6 separate regions of the Homo sapiens genome follow, and all the other regions are linked to region 5. The links are contacts of gene promoters, found by promoter capture Hi-C in blood cells and fetal thymus (Javierre and others, 2016). All regions are on one chromosome and are shown on one strand. Each heading gives the region's core, a stretch centred on a gene start or on the middle of the fragment in contact. The rest is flanking DNA. Distances are from core to core; before and after follow the strand shown.

Region 1 (3,455 bases), core at 778-3,277, 1.8 Mb before region 5:
GGCATGATATTACTTCAATAAATAAGATGGAACTCAAAATTAAAGCTCTGGAAGCTGAGCAGTCCCAAATGTAAATTGCTCAAGAAAACTTTAGTGATAGCGAATTAGAAAAACAGAAGCAGCTATATCTAGAAGAATTAAAAGAGAATCTTTGTTATATGAACTAAACACGTAAGTCAAAACATAGAATCATAGAAAATAAATTAAGCTCATTAATTTGCCTCGAAAGCATAATTTTTAGTGAGACAGGTTTAAGATATTACTGGGAACTGAAAGGTAACTAGATAATACAATTTTGGAAAATGATGTTAGTAAATGAACTTACCTTTAAAATGTTAGTCCAGGATACTTTATATCTCTCTCCCAATTTTTTTTTTATAAGGCTTTTTTTCCCCTTAATATTCTCATGTAGTTAACTTGATCTGTTAGTTTTTAAGCTAAGTAATTTTGAAGCTTTATAATTTAGACAGTGATATTGTTCTAAAATTGCTTGTCAGCGTTTCTCTAAATAGTAATGTTGAGTTTAACTATTATTTGAAAGACTACAACTTCATCCAAAAGAGTCAAGTTTTTTTTTTCTTTCCAAGATGGCAGATGATTTTTAGCATGTCTCAGTTACTTGGAAATAGCAAAATGATGCATAGAGACCAACTCCCTGAGCTTTAATTCACTTAGGAAAAGGGGAATCCACTGGAATTGTGAAGGACACCCCAGATCTCAGGGAGAAGAATGCAGGCAAACCGCCCCCGCGATGGTATCCAGCTGATAAAAGTGAGCGAAGCTCCAGTACCTGAGAGAGGCAAAGAGCTTCTGTCTGTGACTCGTCTTTCCACTGGGGATCTGAGCAACCCAGGCCAAGGGAGAGCATTTTGTTTCTCCCAAACTCTGCAGCTAACTTGAGGGGAGGCTTGGAGATGCTGGGAGGGAAACACAAGGAAAACTGCAGATATTTTCCCAGATCCAGGACCAAGAGCAGGACACCATTTTTAATCTGGGTGAGTACAGGGTCAGACATTCTTTGGGAACCTGGCAGTATGGCTGTTCAGGCATTTTCGTCTGGGCCAGAGATTCTCATGCTTGCTCTGGAGAAGGGTAGGGGTTTCCACACTGGGGTAATTGTGGAAAGCACCTCAGTAGTAGGCACTGGAATTGTATTTTCCTCCATCACAGGTCTGGGATAGGAAGAGAGCCGCCTGGTGATATGCCTGGGTTTGGGATGAAGAGGGTTCTGCAGTTTCTCCTGTTCAATGAGACTTGCAGCCAGGGCCAGCTTGGTGACCTGGAACTGGTCTGCATGTGCCATTGCTGGGTGCCCCAACCTGTTCCTCTGAGATGTTGTACAGTGGGTCCCTCTTTGCTCCACCCCCCAGGCTGAACTCTAGGCATTTGGAGCACCCACTTTCCTGGAGCAATAGCCTAAGCCACCCCATCCTTTTTGTGCAGAGATCCTGGTGCGAGAGGAGTCCTCCCTGGTTCAAGCCCAGGCAAATCTCTCCAGGCATTCAGAGAATCCATTCACCTGGTTCAGCAGCCTGAATTGTCACACCTTTCCTGTACAGAGATTGTGGTACAGCAAGGCCCTCTCTACTTCATGCCCAGGCATATCTCCAGGCAGTCAGAGCACCTGCTTGCCAGGACCAGTAAGCTGAGCCATCCCACCCTTCCTTTGCAGAGATTGTTGTGGAGCATGTGTTTTGTGTGCTAACACAAAAACACACAAGTTACATAGCTCACAGACCGCATAAAATAACCATGCAATAGAAATGACAAAGCAACCAGCTATCAGCTTCGCCATAGGATCAAAACCTCAGAAACCAATATTAACCTTTAATGTCAACAGTATAAATGCCCTCACTTAAAAGGTACAGAGTAGCAAACTGGATGAAAAAAAATCAAGACCCGTCTGTTTGTTGCCTTCAAGAGACCCATCTCACATATAATGACACCTATAGGCTTGAAGTAAAGGGTTGGTGAAAGAGCTATTATGCAAACAGAACACCAAAAAGGCAGGGGTTGTGATTCTTTGGTAAAGCAGACTTTAAACCAACAACAGTAAGAAAGGACAAAGAAGGGCATTACATAATGATAAAGGGTTTAATTCAACAAGAAGACTTAACTATTCGAAATATATATGCACCCAACACTGGAGCACCCACATTCATAAAATGAGAACTTCTAGACCTACAAAAAGACTTGTACAACCACACAATAAATAGTGGAGAACTTCAACACCCCACTAACAGAGAGTATTAGATCATCGAGGCAGGAAACCAACAAAGAAATTCTGGACCAAAATTGGATACCTGATAAACTGAACATAATAGACATCTACAGAATACTCAATTCATCAACTACAGAATATATATTTTTTGTTTCTGCACACAAAACATTCTCTAAGATCAAACACATGTTTGCTCGTAAAGCAAGTCTCAAGAAATTAGAAAAAATCCATATCATACCAACCACACTCTCAGACCACAATGGAATAAAAATAGAAATTAGTACCAGGATGAGCTCTCAAAACTACACAATTATATGAAAATGAAAAAACTTGCTCCCGAATGACTTTTGGGTAAACAATAAAATTAAGTAGAAATAAAAAACATTATATGAAGTAAATTATAACAAAGATACAACATACCAAAATCACTGGGATGCAGGAAAAGGAGTATTAAGAGGAAAGTCTGCAGCACTAAACACCTACATCAAAAAGTTAGAAAGATCTCAAATTAACAATATAACATCACACTTAGAGGAACTAGGAAAATAAGAACAAACTAACCCCAAAGCTAGCAGAAGAAAAGAAAGAAATAAAATTAGAGCAGAACTGAATGCAAATGGAGACCCAAAAATCCATACAAATAATTAATGAAACCAAAAGTTGGGTCTTTGAAAGGATACAAAATCAATAGACAACCAGCTAGATGAGCAAAGATAAAAGAAGATCCAAATCAGCACAATCAGAAATGACAAAGATGACATTACAACCAATCCCACAGGAATACAAAAGATCCTCAGAAACTATTATGAAGACCTCTGTGCACACGAACTAAAATATCTAGAGGGAATGGGTAAATTCCTGGAAACCTACAACCTCCCAAGATTGAATCAGGAAGAAATTGAAACCCTGAACAGACCAATATTGAGTTCCAAAATTGAATCAGCAATAGAAAACCTTAAAAAGCCCCCATGAAAACAGCCTCAAACCTGATGGATTCACAGCTGAATTCTACCAGTTGTACAAAGAAGAGCCGGTGCCAATTCTGCTGAACCTAATCCAAAAAAATCAAGGAGGTGGGACTCCTCCCTAACTCATTCTATAAAGACAGTGTCAACATGATACCAAAACCTGGCAAAGACATAGCGAGAAAAGAAAACTACAGGTCAATATCTCTGGTGAACATAGATGCAAAAGTCCTCAACCAAATACTACTGAATCCAGCAGCACATCAAAA
Region 2 (3,202 bases), core at 349-2,848, 1.8 Mb before region 5:
ATGCTCGGCTAATTTTTTAAAATTTTTTGTAGAGATGGGGTCTCACTATGTTGCCCAGGCTGGTCTTGAAATCCTGGCTTCAAGTGATCCTTCTACCTTGGCCTCCCAAAGTGCTGGGACTATAGTGTGGCCACTGTGCCCAGCCTTGTTTTTAAATATAAGACAAGGAGGCTGAACTTTGAAAAATCTATCTAGCTCATTTTTTGGGTCAAAGCACTTACCACAATTTTAAATCTATATAAGAGTGAAGGAGAGTCGGCTAAGCAGCCATATTCTGCATTCATTGGACTATACTTGGGAACATAGCCATCAGCTCCAGTGCATAGAAACACCTTCTCAATGCTGCAGTAAAAGGAGTCACCCAGATTCTGGACAGGATCCACCATGACACGACCATAAATTATATCACCTGAAATAGAGATGTGGAAATGTTATTTCTGTTATATGATAAGGTATATCAACGTGACACTGTAAACAGGTTATGACAATGAGGACACAGAGATTATTTCCTTGCCACCCTCATCTACTATCAAATGTTGAAGGCCTGTTTGCATGAGCTTCAAGATCTGGTACATTCTCAGGCCTCAGGTAAGACCACTTTGCAGACTGACCAGAAGTGACTAAAGATTTATTGAGTCTCAGATGCTCAGCCACTAGTGTGAATAATTTCAAAGATCTGGCCTATAATTTGGCATTAATAATATCCCATTGTGGTCCAAGTCCAGTTTACAAAAATAAGTTGATAAGATATATACTGATACAATATAGAATAACACTAAGAAAGAAAGTATCAATACAAAGCCTAATTAACGTTATTTGTTTCTGAAAGAGGGTTTAATGAAACCCCCTGGTGTTCAATTCTTTATTTCATAACTATTATTGAACCCCTACCATGAGTGCCAGGTATTTCTGCTAGGTATGTGTGCTGGGTGCTGAATATACACCATTGAGTAAGGCAGGCACAATCTTTGCCTGAGAGGCATTTACAGTCTCATGTAGCTGCAGCATTTAAGTTTACACAGATTGAAAAAAAACATTCGAGAAAATCATCTAGACTTGTTCCAAAAGTCACTTAGGTAAGACAGCTAGAGATTAGCTTCCTCAGAAAAAAAAGATACCCAGTTACATATACCCAATCGCAACGACTTCCCACACCAGCCAGAGTGGGTAAAGACCCAGTTACATTCTCAAAACCATAAAAAAAGCTATAATTTGCCCCCTCAAACACAATCCCCAAAAAGCAAAGCACAAAAGATATACATGACAAACAGAGCATCCCTCTCATTTGTAAAGTGATACCTTCTGCAAAAGCAACATCACTCTCTTGCCCGAATCCCATGGATCCATCAGACAACCAGAGACTCTTCTTAGAGAGCAGGTACATTTGGGTGTTCAAGCTAAACTCAGCAGCCACTGGATCACTGACCTAAAACCAAAGGTAAAAGTTCTTTTATGCATCAGTGGTTCTGATGGTGCACAAACATACTGTTCACAGATACATACATTCACCGTACACTGTAGAACACTAAACACTGCATCGCAATTTTCACACCCTACCAAGCTAACTCAGAGAGTTGTAACATTGCTTTTGTCCTTGAGAAGGCAAAACTGGTGGGATCAAGTCATTTTTTGAATGGGACTAAACAGCATTGCTTGAGCTCATTTCCACTGGTTTATTGGGGTATATAAAGGACTTGTAAATATCATTGTCAGTAGAAGGCCAACAGTAAAAATTCTTGAAAAAAAGATGCCATCACATTTTTTATAATACATAATGGCAATTAGGTACTTTGAGGTGGTTTGAGCTACAGGATTTCATTCTCTTTAGAGAAGAACAAGAAAAGAAATGCAGAAGTGCGGGGAAAATTCTCAAATCTCCAAGACAGCAAACTTCAGGAGGACACAAGATAAGATCAGATAAGAAAAAAATAACCATTGCATACATTTAAACTCTGAATTTTACATCCTGTACTAACAACAGATAAAGGGCAAATCTCTCCTCATTCTTTTATCCCTAGCTTCCTTAACTGTCTGATTTCTTTTCTTTTCAGCATGCAAGAATTAAAGTCATTCACGTGTGGATTTTTTTTTTTTTTACTAATAAATGAAAAACAAAGTGGGATTCTGCAAGTCATAAGATAGTAATTCTATAAGCCACACCTGTTGGAATCGGATGTCAAGGTCAAAGGTGACAGGTTCTCTGGGGTTGCAGGTGACTGGCAGGCGGTATTCCTGATGTGATGGGGCAGTGCATGGCACCAGCTTCACAGTATAGGTCCCTGAGTAGTCACGTACCTTTGAGGAGAAGATATTGATATATTACATTTAAAAATCTGAGGTGTAATCAGATGGCAGCAGCAGAAGAAAATTAATTAAGAGTCTTAGTCACTTACGGCAAAGTCAGAGACAAAGCTCCACTGCTGTACTGGCTGGTTATAGGTTGGTTCACTCCTTATGAGGCGGAGGGAAAATGTCAGGCCTGGATGATCAGCTGACATGATCACTGAGCTTGTAAAGGATGCTAGGAAAGTGCCAGTAATTATAATAATGATATAGTGGTTCAATTAAAAGAGTGCATAACAGTTTAGAGTTTTCAAAATAAATGATCATACATTATTTGCTTCTGTTTTTATAAGAAGGCTGCAAAGCAGTCATGGTTAGTATAATTATCCTCCTCTGGCAGATGAAGAAACTGGGCTGTGAGTGACTGTGTGACTTTCCAAAGATCACACAGCTAGGATGTGACTTTCTGATTCCTACTTCAGTACTGTTTCTGCTCTATAGTTTTGTCAAAAGATAATTGTACAGAAATGCTCAAATTGTTCAGAGCTACTTTCTGGGGAGTCACAGCAGCACAATAAAGGGTGATGTGAATGCATTTATTGTGCACTGAAGTTACGAGCTGAACTTAAAATAGTCTATTAGTATCCACACAGCTGGGCAAACCCAATTTATGAATGGAGTCTGATTTTAGTTAGATTGCCTGCAATCATGGCTACACAAAGATTCAGTTTATTAGAAAGGTAGGCATGTAGAAGAAAACTGTATAGACCAGAAAATCCTCATTTTCCAGAACTGTCAAATACAATAAAGCAAAATGATTTTTTTGGGTTCTTTCTTTCTTGTAGCTCAGTTCCATAAAAATACAATGAAGCCTCTTTCTCTTCCTAATTATTCAGCCCTATTCTCTTTTGTTAGAGTT
Region 3 (3,292 bases), core at 302-2,801, 1.8 Mb before region 5:
CAACAACCAGCTGGTTTCCTTGCATGGCATGAGCTCTGTTCAGATCTGAGCCTTGCATACCATTTTGCCTTGTCTCCTGGTTTTTCCTCCTCTCCCTCTCAGAAGCTTCCCCATTTCTCTGCTTGCCATTCCCACAATATCCCGCATTCTTTCTTGCTTTTATGAGTTGTTGCTCATGCTTGTTTTCCTCTACTCTTTTCAGATTCAGCTTGAGCCTCCCCTCTTTGATAAGCCTTTCCTGACCCACTCAGGGTAAAACTAATCACTTCTACCTGTGCATTCCTGTGCCCTGTCTAGACTAAAATGTGTCTGCATCTTCAACTGGACCAAGAATTCCTCAAAAGCAGGGATCCTGTCTTCTTTATTTTATTGCCAGCACAAAGCATTGTGTCTGGCATATAATAGATACTTAAAGGTAGAATGAATAAATATTTTGTTTTCTAATACATAATTTTGTAAAAATAGATTTTAATTTTTCACTACTTACAAAATATATGGAATATGTGGGACATTGGAAGTATTAATAACCAGAAAGTAGACATTTGTAATATTGCACAGTATTCCAGTGATCTTCAGGGGAAAATGGCAATGACTGACCTTCTTCTCTGCTGATGGTTACAATAGGGCTCATGAGCTCCAGGCCTTCATCCCCATTGGTGTTCACAGCACGAGCTGCGCACTGTACCCGGGAGCCAGGCTGAAAGTATATGGAGTCCAGTGTGACCATCTTGGATGACGTAAAAAAGGTGTCGAAGTCCACTTCTCTCATAGGGCTGGTCACACCGTCAGGGCCCGCAGGTGCACTAATCAGCCACCGGTACCGCGTCAAAGTGTCATTGATGTTCTCACTTGCACAGATAGAGCCTGTTTTATCGTAGTCTGAATATTTGGGGTTGCAAGCCTACGGAAAACAAATGACTGTGTTAGGAACAGAGTGTAGAACAGGTGGAACGCATTCTTCTCCCGTTCTCTGCCATCGAGTTTTCACTGCTGCTTTCCCCAATTTCCACATGCTGTTTATACAGCTTCCGAATTTTGATCCCCAGGCATGATAACATTTATAAACATAATCTTGCATTTCAAACAGCTTATTGGATGTTTCTATTTCTAACTTAATATGTGTAAAATTGTTATTTATACCATAATCTCTTGAATCATCAGATTTGCCAGTTATCCTTATTCTCTCTTTTTTCCTCCCCCGCTTCCTGTCGCTCATCTTACCCCCCTTATCCAGTAAGTCATGAACTCGGCTGATTCTTCTTTAACAGTATTGCTTAAGTTGATGCCTTCCTTTCCATTTCCAGCAGCACTTCTCTGTCTAATTCAGCATCTTTTCTTCCAGTCCACTGACACACGACTGCCCTGTTAACCTGCCAGTTTAACCCCTCTGATCATTCTTCCATGTGAGAACTCTTCGCTACCCAACAAATGAAGTCCAAATTTCTTAATATGACATTTAAAACTCCCTATACTTTGACGCCAAATTATCTCTGCCTTGTTGACTCAATAAACATGTATTGTATAAGTGATTTTAGAAGTGCTGTTGTAATATAAACATAAGTAAGTCATAATTTTAGCTCACAAGGAGCTTAAACTTAGAGTCAAGAAAAGGCAAATTTTGAAAGTAGTGATAATTTGCTATTTCTTATGCTATTTTTTTCTAGCTGTAGCTCACGTTGCAGTCCCTTCTTCCTAGAATGACCTTCCCTTATCAGACTTGCATCCTAAAGAGTCAAAATTCCACCTGACCATCCCAAACCTCCCCTCATATATGGAGCTGCAGCTCTGACTTCTAATTTGTATCATTTTCATGATAGTGGTTATATCTTGCCTTATATTAGAGTTACCAATTCCTATATTCTTTTCTTCATCTCTAAATATCTTGAATGCAGACTTCATATCTTATTTATTTTTCTATTGGTGACAGACTGAGATAACACACTATGTACACATCAGTTAATGAACCTTTGTTCGGTGAAGAAAGAAAAATGGGAGCTTTATTTGATTAGTGTTATATATGCAAAGCTCAAGGCTTAAACCATGTAGTATTTTTCTACTTTCATTTCTTCATAACAAAGCCAATGCTATATTGATTATAATTATTTGAAATAATTATCTTACAATTTTCCTCAATTTTGTGAATCTCCTACTCACTGTGATACAGATGACAGGATAGCCAGACATGGGTTCAGCACTCTCCTTAGCTTTGGAAGTGTCGTCATACATCAACAGGGATACAATTTGAGGGACAGAAGGAAAAGTGACATCTGCCATGCTGCTCATTTCTTCTATGTACACAATGGCTTTCGTCAACTAGAAGGAAAAGACAATTATCACTGATTAGTGAAATATTAAACTTTTGATGCTTCTACCACACAGAACAATACTCACGATCCCTGGCAACCCCATGGCCTCGTTATGATGCAAATTGTCATACTCAGAGCCCCTGGAGAGCAACAGGCCCTAAGTGGCCTGCAGCACATGACCTTGGCACCTTGTTCACATCTTATGGTTCCAGGGAGGGCAGCTGAGCCCAGGGCAGTCAATCCAAAGGTTGGCCAGCGGCCCATGAGGTGTTTGGGCTCTAATTTATTTTTTTTTCTCCAGTTGTGATGACAGTAGCTAAATGTGTCTTGGGGTTGTGAAGGGAAATTTTATGAAGGAGTCAATTCTTTGACAGTGGGAGTAAAGCTGGAGGACATTCTGAAGGAAGGAATATCACAGAGGTCATGGGATAGTGTGAGCCTGGATGAAGCAGATGCCAGTAATAAGAAACTCTTTGAAGCAGCCAAGGGCAGAAGGCACTGCCTGAAACCCAGGCAGGGGAGAATTTGAGTTCCAGACAGAAGAGGAATCTATGAACACCTGCTGCTGGGCAAGGTGACAAGAACACCTTGCTGTGAGTTTGCCCTGGCTCCCTAATAACCTTCCAACATCTGACTACATAGCATAGTTTCCTGAACTATCTTTACGTGTATATTTTTAAAAGAAGCTTTCATCGCTGGAAGTAATTTGAGTGACTATCCTTTTCACCCAAAAGAATTTCATACGCTACTCCATAAAAATAATAATAAAAGATTCATCTTATGTGATGAAGACACAAAACTATATTTGATAAAGATTGCCCATACTTGAGTTTTAAATAACTTGATAAAAAGCAAGGCACTGTAGTAGAAAAACCATCAAGCAGTAAAGATTACAAAATGATAAAAATATTTAAGGAAAAACGTTTCCCAGCTTGAACTCATACTAAAGTGAAACAAATAAAAAAAAGTAATACAGTAAATGTAAG
Region 4 (3,474 bases), core at 930-3,429, 1.4 Mb before region 5:
ATGTCCTTTTTCTTTTTTATTAAAAATGGGGATATCAACCATTTTATTTATTTTAATGTTGTGTATGCCTGGGAGTAAGAAAACATGTATAAAATATGGTACACATGGTGACGACTGAGGGCGGAAGCATGGTTATCACTGTCTGCAACATATCCATTGTTGTCCCAGCAATCTTGATCTGACTGACATATTATAAGAGAATTACTCAAATGGCTACAAGTTACAAACCAATTAGTTTGGGTTATTATAATGAGTCCTCAGCCACAGACAATTAGATGCCCCCTTTTCTGTATAGATCCCTGATATTCTAAAAGCCTGAAAGCTGCTGTGGAGCATTCGCTATCCTTCCCACATTTGAATGAAATAAATTGATCACAGAAATATCCTGTGATGTACCCTAAGAGAAAGAGCCCTCCTATCAGACACCCTGGGTTTTAACCCGAACTCTGTCATTTATTTTAAAAAGCTGTGTAATCTTCAGATATTTGTTTAAGTTCTTCATGCCTCAGTCTTTTCATCAGCAAAGTGGGAAAAAATAGTAATATTTGATAGGGTTGCTGTGTGGACGAAATGAGAAAACACATTCTAAGCCCTTAGAAAAAAGCTTAGCATATTATAAGCACTAAAAAACTCAGTTTTACTATCATCCTAAGTGACATTTACAATTTCTAGATAATTAAATGAGTCTAGAATCGTTTTACTTAAAGTACCAAAGAAAATCACAGGCAGATGTGGGTACAAGTGCCCCAGAGTCCACGGTCTTAAATTGACACCTTCTCTATCTTATTTCTGAGAACAAAATTTTAAATTCCTCAAAATATGCCACAAGAATTATGGCATTGGACATCTAAAAATTGAGCTGTATCCATATTTTGCTCATGTAGGACCAGAAAAACTTTATAAATATTTTGGCTCTAACAATTTTTTCAGAGTGCTGGGGCAGACCTATGTCTTAGCCATTTTTGTACACACGGGATTAGCCCATCTTACAGATAGTGGGCACTCAAAAAATGTTGGTTGAATGGGTAATTTCTTAGTTTTGGTCTGTCTGCTCTGCAAGACGATTCCTGATCTGAAGGCATTTCTCAATCCTCATCCCATTGTCCCGCAATTTATTGGGTCAAGCTCTACGTATGTAGAAAATGGCCATAATTTTTACATTTCTTATTCTCGTCTATATCAAAATCCTGAATTTCTCCATGAATATCATGTAATTTCTGCTTATTCTATAAAGTAAGTATAAAAAAGAATACTTTGTCAATGAAATAAATAGCAGAATTTAATGACATTAAAATGTTGCTTTGGAGACCACATTTATTATCTTATGTGTCCAATAGAGTGTGCTGGTGTACTATATAACAGTAGAGGTTTCGGGCAACGGTGGTGCATTGGATTTATTTCAACTATTTGGTTTGCTTAACACAGTTAAATTAAAGAATGAGACTACATCCCTTAATTAAAACAAAATAAAACAAAATGACAATTTAGTGTACCATGTGAATATTTACAAGAAGAGAAAATGAAAATGATAACTGAATTTTCCTTTTTATATGGGCTCATGATTCAATATCCTACTTCATGGATATAAAATTGTAACACTTCTGGTTTATGCATACTAAAACTGTATACTCTTGCTTAGTTATGTCTAACAATTTAAGCTTTTCCTATTTAAAAAAAGTGCCTTGTATTTTGCATAGGTTATGACTCATAAACTCATCGTATTTCTGTTGATTTTATTCAACAGTAATAAGACCCTTTCCAGGGTTATGATTATAAGAGTATATTAATGCATTTAATCCAGTATTTATTTTTCAAAATTAACCTGAAGTGGCATACAAAACTGTCATTAGCAAGCAAAAAAACAAGATGAACAAAAATCATACTAAAAATACTCCCAATTGATTAATATCTAGTCATATTTTATTTTTCATGGAATAGTTAAGCATTTAGACAAATTCATGCTCCAGTTGCAGTTTAGGAGCAAGTATCTTTGTGATTTCATTTTCCTTGTGTTATGTATGTGTGTATGTGTGTGTGTGTCCCGTGGGAAACTGGCCAAGAACATGGCTAAATAAGAATCCATGTTTATGCTACTTGGGAAACTGGGTAGTCTGGCAGTGTATTGGCATTTTTGATTCTGTACGATATGGCAAGAATTTTCAACTCAGATGCTGTAGTAGACATTTGTCATTTTTTTTTGACTGCTCAGTATTTGCATTCTCTGCCTATATTTGGAATAGTATTAAGAGATCTGAGTCTTAGAGGGAGCAGAATCAACCTTATAGAAACAGAAAATTAGAGATGCTCATTTTTCCATCCTTCTTTGCACTAGGCATGGAAACTCTAATAATCACATTCACCTGTTCCACAAGTGGGATTGGGAGCTCACTGGGGCCAGAGAAGCGTAAAGTCATGAGTCTATGTTACAGTGATAATTCTCAGAGCATTAGGGCCCACAATGCACACTGAAATATTTATGTTTCCTCATCAGATAAATTCTGTGTATGATTTAGGCTTTTGTTCTCAGCTATGTAACATAAAGCATATGTTACGAGGCCTCCTGCTGATTCTGTAAAATGCCGATTTTTTTTCCAACTCACATCAATCAAAGTCAAATTCTGTTGTTATTCAATAACACATAATGGTGAGATATTTGTGATTTTGAGGTTATATTTCTTAGCAAAAGGAATTTAAAGCTTACTATCAACATTACTGTAGAATATAAAATTTTAATGAATTGTGCAAATCAAAGGGGAACAGATCAAACACCAGGTTGGTCAGAAGAGACACAGCTTTGAGCAGCCAGTGGCAAAGCATTGTCATGTGGCAATTAAAGCAGGTGACTAATGCTGGATGGAATCAAAGGATGCAAATCTCTACAGTAGACTCTTAAATTGAACTTTGAGCGAGTTCCTGAGCAGAGTCTGAGGAAAGACCTTGAAATAAAAAAGCAAGAGTCAGCAAAGATAATGTGGGACAAGACTAAGATACGTACAAAATCTTTAGCAGAGCTAATTAGATAAGAAAAAGAGAAATGTAAATAAACATAAAGTATTTTCTTTTCACCTGTTCTTTGATGAGAAAATATAAAATTTTATATCAAAATCTTACAAAATCATATATAATTTTATTGAACTTATTTTAAGTGTAAAATGTAGTTTTCATTAATTTATATTGAATCTATTAATTGAATATCAATTCTATTAACTAATTCTATAACTGATCTCTAACACAGTGAGTCTAAAAGCAAATGAATGAACAAGTCAAAGGAAAGAAAGGAAAAGAAGGAAGGAATGAAGGAAGGAAGAAAGGAAGGAGAGAAGGAGGGAGGGATGGAGGGAAGAAGAAAGGAACAACAATAGCAACTATCATTCTCATGCTTTGTAGATTGTTCAGGAATGAGTGGAAGCCCCTGAGATTTTTCCTCTTTCTTTGGGCAGTGCATACAGCTTTTTGTACACAGTACTTGCCATG
Region 5 (3,243 bases), core at 378-2,877:
TCAAGGTTCGTGTTGAAGCCATTGACTGGAAGACTGAACGGGAAGGAAGCATAATGGGCAGTGGGTTAACAACATAAATTTTATTCTTGGTTATTAGAAAGGAAATTGTTCTCCAGGCAAATTTCAACAAAGTTGGATGAGTAAATGAAAGAAATGCCATTCTAGTTGGTACGGTATAAAAAGTAACTACCTTGGGTCAGAATTCAGTTTCAAATTGGCCTCTGACACTTGTCTGTAGTGTGGTCTTGGGCAATTCATCTAACCTCTCTATGCCTTGATTTCCACTTGTATAAAATGAGAAGTACAATCATAATAATAAAATATGCCAGCAGTATACTGTATTACTATCCACCTGAGGTAGGAGTATGTATTTTCACCCCACTGTCTTTGGACCTGGCCATGTGATGTGTTTTGCCCAGTGGAATGTAACATTTGCCACTCCTTTTATTATGAGAACAGCATGCTCCTAAGGAGGCTGCTCTTTCAGCCTGCATTCTAGAACAAAGAGGACACAGGAAGCAGAGATGCAGCTGATCTACAGCTTACATAAAACCTGAATGATAAATAAACTTTGTCATTGTAAGCCACTGAGATTTGCGAGTTGTTCCTGCTGCAAAGCCAAGTAATATACTGCGCTACCCACCTCACATATTTGTCTGAAGTGGACTTTAAAAATGTTTTAAAGCACTTTATAATGTTCTATGCCCGTCTATGTCTCAAACCAGCTCCTTCTCTCGCCATAGATTGATGCAGGTCAGAAAAGTTAACAGCACTAACTTATGTGAGACAGTAAAGTGAGAATACCTGCTTTCAAAGCTGCACCTCTCTCTCCTGCCTTTCTGCCATTGGCCCCCAAATTCGTTGCTACTGCCCCGTTAGGATTATACTCAGTTCCTATCCCATCTCCTCATAAAACAAAATAATCGCACGGGTTTTGTTATTTGTGATGTGAACTTTCATAAAAATATTGAAATGGTACCGCTTTTTCTGCTAGTGCTGGCCCCAGTTCTTCTGAGAAAATGCTCAGAACTGCCGGCTTCTGTTTCTTCTCCATATTTTGGTTAAATTTTACTTGAATCCTTCATTTAGTCAGTTTTGCCAGAACGTCTCTGTGGAATCCTATTTAAATTCAAAGCACTCTATGAAAAAATTTCAAAAGGATCGCTTTAAAAAAAAAAAAAAAGACATTTCAATTTAACTAGCAGTAAGTAACTCTTGTTGACTAAACTCATTAAAGAAGCAACCACTGAGATCACACAGAAAAACCTCAAGAGGTGGCACCCCGACTCGCATTAACCCAGGGAGACATGATGGCTAAGGAAGTAGATGGGACAATGACTGGGCCCGAAAACAAGAAAATCTTTGTTATAAAAGCCTCCCATTTCTGCACGATTAAGTTGAAAGAAGGTGAGCTTCGAGTTAAGCCTAGGCAGTTTTGAATTCCAGCTCGCCCACAATCTCTTGCAACCTTAGGCCGCTTACCTGAGACTCAGCCTTTCTTACCCAACAAATCAGGGAAAATAATAGCTACCTTACAAGACTAGCAAGTTTGTCTTAAATGGAGTGAGATGAGTGGAACACCTAACAGAGGTCTCAGACAATAACAGCTTCTCCAAAAATTCTCGATTTGTGGTTGGCTGAGGTGGAGGAACAAAATGGCGGCGCCGGCGGCGTGACCGGGCCCTCTGGCCCACAGCCGTTGGTAGCGGTGGCAGCAGTACTGCTGCCCCAACTCGCTGTGCCCCCTTTCTCAGCCCACGACATCGCCACGACAGCGAGGCAGCGACCGCCACCGAGAAAGAGGTGGTGGCCCAGCCTGGAACCTTGAGAAACCCTCGCAAACTGTGGCCTGGCGGAAATCCTGGTGTGCTGCAGGGATCAGGCTGACTCCACGCCCTGTAACACCGGGAAACGCCTCGGTGGCCATTTCCAGCAGCCCTCATCCTCAGCCTTGCGGGCCGGTGGGCCCCGGAGGCCTCCATCCTCCCCTAGAGGGGTCAGGGCTGAGCCCAGCCTCCATCTTTGCCTCTCAGGATGACAAACAACAGCGGCTCCAAAGCCGAACTCGTTGTGGGAGGGAAATACAAACTGGTGCGGAAGATCGGGTCTGGCTCCTTTGGAGACGTTTATCTGGGCATCACCACCACCAACGGCGAGGACGTAGCAGTGAAGCTGGAATCTCAGAAGGTCAAGCACCCCCAGTTGCTGTATGAGAGCAAACTCTACACGATTCTTCAAGGTGGGGTTGGCATCCCCCACATGCACTGGTATGGTCAGGAAAAAGACAACAATGTGCTAGTCATGGACCTTCTGGGACCCAGCCTCGAAGACCTCTTTAATTTCTGTTCAAGAAGGTTCACCATGAAAACTGTACTTATGTTAGCCGACCAGATGATCAGCAGAATTGAATACGTGCATACAAAGAATTTTCTACACCGAGACATTAAACCAGATAACTTCCTGATGGGTACTGGGCGTCACTGTAATAAGTTGTTCCTTATTGATTTTGGTTTGGCCAAAAAGTACAGAGACAACAGGACCAGGCAACACATACCGTACAGAGAAGATAAACACCTCATTGGCACTGTCCGATATGCCAGCATCAATGCACATCTTGGTATTGAGCAGAGCCGCCGAGATGACATGGAATCCTTAGGCTACGTTTTCATGTATTTTAATAGAACCAGCCTGCCGTGGCAAGGACTAAGGGCTATGACAAAAAAACAAAAATATGAAAAGATTAGTGAGAAGAAGATGTCCACCCCTGTTGAAGTTTTATGTAAGGGGTTTCCTGCAGAATTCGCCATGTACTTGAACTACTGTCGTGGGCTGCGCTTTGAGGAAGTCCCAGATTACATGTATCTGAGGCAGCTATTCCGCATTCTTTTCAGGACCCTGAACCACCAATATGACTACACATTTGATTGGACGATGTTAAAGCAGAAAGCAGCACAGCAGGCAGCCTCTTCCAGTGGGCAGGGTCAGCAGGCCCAAACCCAGACAGGCAAGCAAACTGAAAAAAACAAGAATAATGTGAAAGATAACTAAGCGTGAATGAGGAACAGAAGAAGCAGAGCAGATGATTCGAGCAGCATTTGTTTCTCCCCACATCTAGAAATTGTAGTTCATATGTACACCAGCTAGTGGCTGTGAACAACCATTTAGTTGGTGTAAAAAACTTTATTTCAATATAAACTGACTCTGGGGAGCGTTGGTGATGCTGTATCCCAAAGTGTAGCCTCT
Region 6 (3,594 bases), core at 692-3,191, 1.5 Mb before region 5:
CACACATAAGCCTAGGCCTACACAGGGTCAGGATCATCAATATCACTGTCTTCCGCCTCTACATCTTGTTCCACTGGAAGGTCTGCAGGGGCAATGACACCCGTGGAGCTCTCATCTCCTGTGATAACAATGCCTTCTTCTGGATGCCTCCTGAAAGAACTGCCTGAGGCAGTTTGATGCTTTTTTATAATTAGAAGGAATACATGCTAAAATAATGATTAAAAAGCATAATATAGTAAATACATAAACCATTAACGTAGTCACTTATCAGCATTATCAAGTATTATGTATTGTGCATAATTGTATGTGCTATACTTTTATACCATTGACAGTGCAATAGGTTTGTTTACACCAGCAACACCAAAAACACATGAGTAATGTATTATGCCACTGCATTAGGACAGCTACTACATCACTAAGGGATAGGATTTTTTGTCTTACAGGACCACTATCATACATGCGGTCCCATTTATTTATTTATTTATTCATTTATTTATTTTTGAGTCCGACTCTCACTCTGTCACCAGGCTGGAGTGCAGTGGTGCAATCTCGACTCACTGCAACCTCCGCATCCTGGGTTCAAGTGATTCTGCTGCCTCAGGCTCCCTAGTAGCTGGGACAACAGGTGTGCACCACCATGCCCAGCCAATTTTTGTATTTTTAGTAGATACGGGGTTTCACCATTTTGGCCAGGATGTTCTCAATCTCCTGACCTCGTGATCTGCCTGCCTCAGCTTCCCAAAATGTTGGGATTACAGGCGTGAGCCACCGTGCCCGGCCCATGGTTCTTCTTTGACCAAAACGTCATTATGCCACACGTGGCTGTGTATTAAAATGCATGCAGGAGAAAATTCAACTTTAATAATGTTGATGAAGTAAGTAGTTCACATACTTCAAAGAAAAAATAGACAAGTAAACAAACATAAATACAAAAATGAATAGGCAGGAGCCCCTTATCCCCTAGTTTATAGTCTGGTGAGGGAACAAAGACATGCCGAAACACAAAACAAAATTCAAGAAGAAATATAGCTGAGCTACATAGGTAGCATTAAAGACAGATGATTAAGTTCTTAATTTCCCCTGTGGGAACCAAGGAAAGCAAGCAGGAAGAGGTGAAATTTAAAGGAAAAGTTTGATTATATATAGGAGGTCATGAGTCAGATGGGCATGTGGTGGTGGGTAGTGAAGAGGGGACAATGTTCTAGGTAGAGGGGGGAAATGTCCAAAGTACATGTGGTCTTGAGAATATTAAGTAGTTAAGCAAGGCTATGAATAATGAAGGTTAATTGAGACTGAGAAATGGAAGATGAATACTATATGAATATTAAGATAAGATTGACAAATCATTTTCTAAGGTCTTAATTTCTAAATGGCTGGTCTTCTATGATGACTGGTAGAGGGGCTTCTCTGAGTAGAGAGTGTTAGGGGAAAGCCTCTGTTGTTAAAGCAAATAGGCTTTCTATACTGTAGATGTGTGGGCAGCTGCCCCCACCCACCTTACTTTAAGAGAAATTGACGTGGAGGTTGCCCTACTTAAAATCCTTGTGAACTTGCTTGTGTGCTTTTATTTTTATTTTTAAGTAATGAACTAGGACATTCCCTAAGTTAAGAATTAATGAGCCACTGTATTTCTTGTAAATATACTTTTTAGCTTTACCTCTTGATCTTGATGGTTGGTGAATATAAAGTATATGTTTTGTGTACATATGTGATATTGTTGGAATGCTGTTGTAATCACACCAATGCTAAATTAGCATTTGAGTGGCCATAGCGTGCAGTGCTATCCCTTAGGCCACAAGGTAATCCAAAAAGAGTTAACTTTTTAAAATTTTTTAGTCTGCATAATAATGTGCTAAGAATTTCATATGCAGTGTTGCATTCAAGTCTCACTGTTATCCTGTCATTTAAAATTGTTATTATATAGTTATTATGTATTATTCTCACTTTACAAATGGAGAAATTAAAGCATTGACAGGTTGAGTATTTGGCCACTGTCACACAGCTGGGATGAAACACAGCTGGAATTAAAACTCAAGTTTTTCTAACTCTAAAACCACAGTCTTAACTATTAAGTAGTGTGAAATTTTACTGTAACTTTTAGATGAAAATATAGCCACAAGAAGTGATTTTTTTTCCCCTTACAACATCATAACCAGTGGTCAGAGCTGGAACTCACTTCTAGGCTGCCTGACTCCAGATGCCATGTTCTTTACATGATGTGCCATATAAATGCATGGACAGCACAAGGAACAAATAAGCCCATAATTCAACAAGCAAAAACTATTCAAAATATGTTTCTTTTATCCTGAGTTCTATCAATGGATGGACCTAGTCATAAATCAGCTCTAAGATAATTATATTAGTCAGTGATACTCTTTATGAATGTGATAATATACTAAAATTATTCATAATCCTCCCATTTTCTATTTAGAAATTGTATTCTCAGAAAATCACCTCTATTTTAATCAATGTGTACATTCAAGTGATTCCAAGTAAAGTTGCAAAGATATTTTCAAAAAAATTGACAGCTATAATATTTGTATGGAGCCAGGCATGGTGGTGCACTCCTCTAGTCTCAGCTACTCAAGAGCTGAGGCAAGAGGAGTGTTTGACCCCGGGAGTTTGAGATCAGCCTTGGGCAACATAGCAAGCCCTCATCTCAAAAAAATAAAAAATAAAAAATAAAAAAATATGAAATTTCAAAGGACCTTAAAGAAAAGATGAATACAGTAAATAAGTATAAAATGTGAATATATGTTATATTAAAGAATCAAGACATAATAAAATATGATATGTAAAATGTTGTAATTTTATCCTGATTAAACAAATAAACTGGAGGATTTACTAAGAAATACACAAAAATTTTCGAACTTAACAGATGACAAAGCTGGATTTCAATTTTGTATCATTTTACTTTCTTTTTTTTTTTTTTTTTTTTTTTTTTACTTAAAAAACAAACACCTATGACAGAATGTCCATTGCTGGTAGTGTTAAGACTAGCTTGTTACAGGCCATTTCTTCACACTGGGAAAAACTAGAAAACCTCAGTAAAATATATTTTTTAAATTTTGTGCAGCTATCTGACAGCTACAAGGGAGCAAATAAGTGCTACCTTGAACAGGTGATAAGTTTACTGAGTTTTATTTCGCATAATGGCCAGACCAAAGGAGACGTATCTCCATTTTCATCGATAATTTTTATTTCCTTAAAAAGAGGATTTGATTTGTTCACAAGAGGCCCTCCTATTGCATGGGGTTTCAAACAGACTAGGTGGAAGTGGATGTCTTCTCTAGTACCAAATCCATCTGTAATTGCCTTAGGCAATGAAGGCATGAATCCTCAGTCAAATCATCCATGGCCAGAAATGCAAGTTTCATTTTGGATAATCTAAAGCCCAGCAATTTTGGCAGAGTAGAAACCATTTGAGCGTGTTTTTGAAGTTTCTTTTTTACAATTTTAGAGACTCTTCCTGAAGTACAATCAGCATGTGGTTAAAGCCAAGGAAACACAAATAAGCCATTTTCATTCTCATTCAAAACTTTTGTATAACTAAAAATATTTTATCTGGTTTGGCTCTGTGTCCCCACCCAAATC

Evidence for each region. The method cuts DNA at HindIII sites, captures the fragments that hold promoters and counts their contacts. A CHiCAGO score of 5 or more calls a contact.
Region 1: a fragment that was not itself captured here is called in contact with the fragment with the promoter of CSNK1A1L in region 5 in 1 of 17 cell types (activated CD4 T cells); the score reaches 5.4 in activated CD4 T cells.
Region 2: a contact is called between a fragment that was not itself captured here and the fragment with the promoter of CSNK1A1L in region 5, in 1 of 17 cell types (total B cells). The highest score is 9.2, in total B cells.
Region 3: a fragment that was not itself captured here is called in contact with the fragment with the promoter of CSNK1A1L in region 5 in 1 of 17 cell types (total B cells); the score reaches 5.8 in total B cells.
Region 4: a fragment that was not itself captured here is called in contact with the fragment with the promoter of CSNK1A1L in region 5 in 6 of 17 cell types (M2 macrophages, megakaryocytes, total B cells and 3 more); the score reaches 9.7 in M2 macrophages.
Region 6: a fragment that was not itself captured here is called in contact with the fragment with the promoter of CSNK1A1L in region 5 in 1 of 17 cell types (non-activated CD4 T cells); the score reaches 5.4 in non-activated CD4 T cells.

Annotation. Positions count from the first base shown.
Region 1 is chr13:38,919,411-38,922,865 of GRCh38, reverse strand. It overlaps the pseudogene ANKRD26P2. Among named protein-coding and RNA genes, the nearest start is that of STOML3, 70 kb to the left of the region's middle. RefSeq lists an enhancer at 711-1,910. The HindIII fragment of the contact is 3,143 bases long and covers 456-3,455 here.
Region 2 is chr13:38,875,341-38,878,542 of GRCh38, reverse strand. It overlaps FREM2 (FRAS1 related extracellular matrix 2), which reads right to left. Exons shown (of 24, transcript NM_207361.6): 19 at 2,394-2,521; 20 at 2,161-2,295; 21 at 1,300-1,426; 22 at 222-409. Among named protein-coding and RNA genes, the nearest start is that of FREM2-AS1, 49 kb to the right of the region's middle. The HindIII fragment of the contact is 5,751 bases long and covers 1-3,202 here.
Region 3 is chr13:38,856,896-38,860,187 of GRCh38, reverse strand. It overlaps FREM2 (FRAS1 related extracellular matrix 2), which reads right to left. Exons shown (of 24, transcript NM_207361.6): 13 at 2,155-2,313; 14 at 598-901. Among named protein-coding and RNA genes, the nearest start is that of FREM2-AS1, 31 kb to the right of the region's middle. The HindIII fragment of the contact is 2,887 bases long and covers 108-2,994 here.
Region 4 is chr13:38,528,567-38,532,040 of GRCh38, reverse strand. LINC00437 (long intergenic non-protein coding RNA 437) reads left to right here. Exons shown (of 3, transcript NR_126377.1): 3 at 1-41. Among named protein-coding and RNA genes, the nearest start is that of LINC00366, 37 kb to the left of the region's middle. The HindIII fragment of the contact is 1,038 bases long and covers 1,661-2,698 here.
Region 5 is chr13:37,104,048-37,107,290 of GRCh38, reverse strand. CSNK1A1L (casein kinase 1 alpha 1 like) reads left to right here and starts at 1,627. Exons shown (of 1, transcript NM_145203.6): 1 at 1,627-3,243. The coding sequence starts at 2,035. The coding sequence ends at 3,048. The HindIII fragment of the contact is 4,821 bases long and covers 1-3,243 here.
Region 6 is chr13:38,586,484-38,590,077 of GRCh38, reverse strand. All of the region lies in intron 2 of LINC00437 (long intergenic non-protein coding RNA 437), which reads left to right. Among named protein-coding and RNA genes, the nearest start is that of LINC00366, 21 kb to the right of the region's middle. The HindIII fragment of the contact is 3,987 bases long and covers 1-3,594 here.